Regions from separate parts of the Homo sapiens genome. Here region 1 is linked to region 2. Evidence: promoter capture Hi-C in 16 types of primary human blood cells and fetal thymus (Javierre and others, 2016). All regions are on one chromosome and are shown on one strand. The core of a region is centred on a gene start or on the middle of the fragment in contact, and the rest is flanking DNA. Distances in the headings are between cores, read along the strand shown.

What was found. Contacts are between HindIII fragments. The CHiCAGO score rates a contact against its expected background, and 5 or more counts as called.
Region 1: a fragment that was not itself captured here is called in contact with the fragment with the promoter of TRMT6 in region 2 in 1 of 17 cell types (M0 macrophages); the score reaches 5.3 in M0 macrophages.

Annotation. Positions count from the first base shown.
Region 1 is chr20:5,187,604-5,190,303 of GRCh38, reverse strand. It overlaps CDS2 (CDP-diacylglycerol synthase 2), which reads right to left. Exons shown (of 13, transcript NM_003818.4): 11 at 1,118-1,237; 12 at 466-569; 13 at 1-202. The coding sequence ends at 70. Among named protein-coding and RNA genes, the nearest start is that of CDS2, 62 kb to the right of the region's middle. The HindIII fragment of the contact is 2,083 bases long and covers 250-2,332 here.
Region 2 is chr20:5,949,235-5,951,958 of GRCh38, reverse strand. It overlaps TRMT6 (tRNA methyltransferase 6 non-catalytic subunit), which reads left to right and starts at 1,426. Exons shown (of 11, transcript NM_015939.5): 1 at 1,426-1,681. The coding sequence starts at 1,554. MCM8 (minichromosome maintenance 8 homologous recombination repair factor) reads right to left here and starts at 1,307. Exons shown (of 19, transcript NM_032485.6): 1 at 936-1,307. RefSeq lists an enhancer at 1,291-1,430. The HindIII fragment of the contact is 3,685 bases long and covers 1-2,724 here.

The sequences.
Region 1 (2,700 bases), core at 42-2,541, 760 kb after region 2:
CAGCTGGGCTTGCCTTGGAGACCTGCCCCTGCTCAGTTCTGTTCCTGTTCTCCTGGCCCTGGGTGGCCCCTACTCGTCCTCTGTGGTGGATGTCAGCATCCCTTTGTCGATCAGATGAGACCGCAGCGTGTTGAAGATGTGGAGCTGCTGATCTGGCCGTAAAGTCAGGAACTGCTGAATCAGTTTGCTTGGGTTAGGGCCTCTGGAACAGAATGTGAAGAAACAGCACTGAGCTAGGGCCCGGAAGCTTCCAGGGCCTGATTATCTGAGTGGCTGCTCTGATCTCTGGATCAGAGAGTTATCTATTAACAGATGACAGGAGGCCTCAGAAAATCTGTAAGCAGAAACAACTGAAAACTGCATTATTTGGGATGCTTTTCACTGGAACTTAGATGCCGCTAAAATTCTAGAATTGCACCGTACTTAAAAATCCACCAACTTGGTTCAGATGGAAAGGTACTATACCTGATAAAACTGGCGATGTATACATTGACAAAGGTGGCCATCAGATACTGGCAGTCAAAGCGATCCATGATGCCTCCATGGCCAGGAATGGTATTGGCAAAGTCCTGTTAGAGGCAGGGGAAGGATGGGTGAACTTGGGCTCAGCCACTAACCAATCCCAGCCTAATGGTCCCACCCCAATGTCAGGCTTCTGTGCTGAGTAGCTGAGGGCAATAGAAGGTGAGAAGTATGAAATCTAATGGTGAGGCTATATTAGGACACAATTTTATTGCATTACAAAATGTTCTTATTTCATTTACTTAATAAAGACAGGAGTCTTGCTATGTTGCTCAGGCTACTTTCTAACTCCTAGCCTCAAGTGATCCTCCCGCCTTGGCCTCTTAAAGTGCTGGGGTTACAGACATGAGCCACTGCCTGGCCCAAAATGTTCTTTTGAAGAAAGATATATTAACAAATAAACTGAAAAACAACGATTGCATTTTCCTGAAAATATTGTTATTAATTAACTCACCTAAATTCAGTGCATGGGTCAAGATCACACATTAAATGCCAGGGTGTACAGCCTAGTATTTTGGAGGGGGCAGGGAAGGGGGAGAAAGGCAGAAGATGGGTGAGGGAGTGAGATGAGAGGAACGTAAGACGGTTTTCCTACTTTGATTTTAAAGGCTCGTTTGAATCCACTTGCGAAGAATCCTCCAAAGGGGCCAATGAGCGAGGCAAAGGTGGAGAGAGCGATGCTGTGAATCTGGAAGGGGTACATCCGGACCGTTTTCTGAGAAGAGTAAATGAAGTAAAAGTTTAGGTGCATACATGCCCAGTGTTACGGTTTGAGTTGTCAACTCATGTTGAAATTTGATCCTCATTGTGGCCTCACTGGGAGGTGATGCCTAGTGGGAGGTGTTTGGGTCACAGGGGCAAATCCCTCATGAATGGCTTGGTGCCTTTCTCCTAGTAGTGAGTTCTGTCAAGAGACTAGATTAGCACTGGCATCCCGAGGGAATGGGTTGTTATGAAGTGATGAAGCCCCTGGTTTTGCCTCTTTGCATGTGTCTGCTTCCACCTTTGACCTTCTCCGCCATGTTACAATGCAGCATAAAAAGCCCTCACCAGAAGCCAGGCAGCAGCCAATGCCACACTTCTCACACTTCTCAGCCTGCAGAAAGAAGCTAAGTAAACCTCTTTTCTTTGTAAATTACCCAGCCCCAAGTGTTCTATCAACACTAGACAGACCAAGACATCCAACCTCGTAACTCTTTATGAAACTAATTATATACATGTAGGTTTTAAATCAATAAGAGGAGTGAATTTTTCCCATTTTGTAAATTTCTAATATCTAAGTTAATGGAAAACATTAAAATATTCTGCATTCAATCTGTTGCAACATGCTGTTTTGGTGGAAGTATATAAAGAAAATCCAGCCGTACGCAGATACATAGTTGAAAAGAGTATTTTAGTCGTAGCCTCAGATGGTTTTGGGTATTCTCTGACACTACACCAGAGCTTGACAAGTAGTCATTTCTTGAATATTAGGTGTGATATGGAATCTAGAATTCTATCAATGGACTTTGTTCTCTCTTACATTAAAATCCATTGGTCTATCTTATACTTGAACGGATCTTTTACCCATGCATGACTATATAACACCATGCATCAGCCATTTAGAAAATAATGGTTCACTGAGTTATGTAAATCTTCCAAATGTAGACACATTTCATTATACCGTGTCAAATATGTTTGTGTTTTTTCTCATGTGATCAACACACACACACACACACACACACACGTACGTTAAGAATCATCACAGACCTCATCAGAAAAGGCTTTTAAGTATTAGGAAGCTGTCAAGTTCACAGTGGCAGGTTAAGCTTTCCAAAATTCTAATTTTCATTTGAAAGCCAAATTTTATCCTTGGTAACAATTACTGTCAGTCATTTTTCTTTTCTTTTTTTTTTTTTTTTTGAGACAGTCTCACTCTGTCACCCAGGCTGGAGTGCAGTGGTGCGATCTTGGCTCACTGCATCCTCCGCCTCCTGGGTTCAAGCAACTCAACCTCCTGAGTAGCTGGTAGCTGGGATTACAGGCACACGCCACCATCCCCAGCTATATTTTTTTGTATTTTTAGTAAAGACGGGGTTTCGCCATGTTACCCAGGCTGGTCTGGAACTCCTGACCTCAAGAGATCTGCCTGCCTCGGCCTTCCAAAGTGCTGGGATTTCAGGTGTGAGCCACTGTGCC
Region 2 (2,724 bases), core at 177-2,676:
CTCTTAAAAATGTATTAATAAAAAGGGAAAAATTAATGTATTCTAGGTTCAAGAGTAGCAAACAGGCTTGCAAAGTTGTACAGCTATGATACAAGACCCAAATATTCTGCAGTTAAGTTTCTAATCTCTATCGCTTTTTAAGGTATACCATAATAGTTTAATAACTATTAAATATGGTTTACGTATACTAGACGCTCACAGGTTAAAAATAAGGACAGGTACTGTACCTGTTTACAAGTCCCCATTACAGAAATGAAAATAGGACAGGTAATTAACTCTATGAAAACTTATTTGCAGTATTTGAGACTTCTTATTATAGGGCAGGACAGGATGAACATAATTCTGGCCTGTGAGACACTAGGGATACATCATCATAGCTTCTTACATACAGTCAATCCTGCAGTGTCACATCCATTTTTTGTGCAGTTTTTCTGTAAATCCAAAACTGTTCTTATAAAATACACGTCTACTTAAAAATGATTCATATCCTAAGTATACAAGTAAATAAAGATATACCTGTACGCTGCAGTGCAATTCATTATCAAATACTCTACCCAAATCCTTACTTAAAAGGGGTTTAGTTAATAAAACAAGATAGTAACTAGAAAGTTCACGATTTAACGGCATGACAGGGCTCCAATAATTAGGCATTACACATTATGAAACTGATGCTCAAAGAAATTAAGCAAACCGATCAAGATCAAAGTTGTTTGTCGACAGTACAGAGATAAAACTTTCAGCCTCCCAAGCTGAGGCGCTCCTTCAACAACGCTGCGTGCCATACCCTTCTCAAACGAGACAATATGCTGAGAACAGTAACAAATTCAAAAAAACGTTAAGAAGTAGGACTGGAGAAAGAGTAAAAAGAAACAGTTGGGTACCTGTGCTTCTTCAAATACTACTTTATTTACATCTCCTAAGGCTAAAGTTCTTACTTGCTTGGGACAGAGGTCCCAAAGCTCTCCTAGTTCACAACTGGGCCGGCTCCAGGATACGCGCAGATCTGTCCGGCCGGATTCTCCCTCCCTCCCTCCCGTAGAGAAGCACCACGGGGCTAAGAGTCTCCGGGATCTTAGCTCCTCAGGCGACTCCTGCCAAGTCCGCAGTTCTCTTCAGCCGCAGCTTTCCTGTCGTCCCCGCGCGGTGCTGAACCCCATCTGTCTCAACGGCTCGGGAAACTCAGTTTCCCCACCGCAGCTTCCAGAAGGTGTCTGTAGCGCACAGCGCCGCAAAAATGCCTCAAGCGAAAATCAGGTCTTCCCCTAAATTCTTTTTTGGCGCTTCAGTGATCCAACTTCCGCTCAAAGAAGCGGCAAGACGAGAGGGGCGGGGCGGAGTGCAGCCAATCAAGGAGTTTGGCCAGACGGAAGCCGAGAGGCTTCCGGAAGCGGTCTTGAGGTCTGGGCCGGAAAGCGGAAGCGGCGTGCAACACGTGGGGGCGGTGCCGGTCGGAGGGCTCCTAGTGCGCCAGGTTGTGGGAAGTGAGGCTGGCGGTGGCGACAACCGAGGAGGAGGGGCGGGACGCCGTGGAGCACGGCGACCGGCTGAGCGTCATGGAGGGCTCAGGGGAGCAGCCGGGCCCACAACCACAGCATCCCGGAGACCACCGCATCCGCGACGGCGACTTCGTGGTGCTGAAACGTGAAGATGTGTTTAAAGCAGTACAAGTCCAGCGGAGAAAGTAAGTCAGATCGCTGATTTTAGGGGTCTCCCGCCCCCACCTTGTAGATACCCCCTCCCTCCAGGTTTCTCCACAGAATTCTTCCGCCAGGGTGCCATTCTTGGCTCTCTCGGTCCCCATTCCCCGCCCTCGTTGTCTCCTCGGGTCTTTCTGTCACAGAAGGCTTTTCCACCAGGATCCCGTCTTCGAACCTCATAATCTCCCTTAACCCTCCTGTTTTTCCCGGAGCCCCCTCCATGATTTCATATCTGGCCGTCCACCTTCAGCATCCTTTTCAGTCTTTCCACAGAGTTCCTTCCCCAGAATTCCATTCTTGGCCCTAGGGTGCCAATGCCTCCCTCTCCACACCCTAATCACCTGTCCTGAAGTTCTTTCCCTAGGACCTTGGGATCTTCACTGTCTTTCCAGAGACACCCCCTCCTTTCTTCACTTTAGGATCTCATCCTTGTCTCCAGAGTCTCCTTCAGGTTCCCCCTTTTTTTCCACCATAGATCCTCCTTCTTCCCTAATCCCCCAGTCAGGATCTATCCCACAAAAAATGAAACGTCTCCTACCTAGTCTGGCTTTCTATCCTCTTCTCTACCCAAGCAGGATACACAGAATAGATGAAGGAGACAATTCACCACAGAGTGTGGAATCACTTTGAGTTTCCCTCGTTTTACTCACCAAAGGATTCAACGCTGGGAAAATTGCTAAAAAGCAATTTGCTCAAGGCCTCAGAACTCCAAATTAGGTTTGGTTTGTGCACCTGCTGGCTAGTATCGCTCTGTTTTATAGAAGTAAAGAAGTGGGATTTTGATAACTTTCTGGAAGGGCTGGTGAGGTTGTTAAGTCCTAAGAGCTTATTAATGGTGAAAATTTATTGGGATATTTGGATTAATTTATCTGAGAAATACAACCACAGTGTTTTTGTTTTTGAGACGGAGTCTTGCTTTGTCACCCAGGCTTTAGGGCAGTAGTGCAATCTCGGCTCATTGCAGCCTCTGCCTCCGAGGTTCAAGCGATTCTCCTGCCTCAGCCTCCCTAGTGGCTGGGACTCTGGC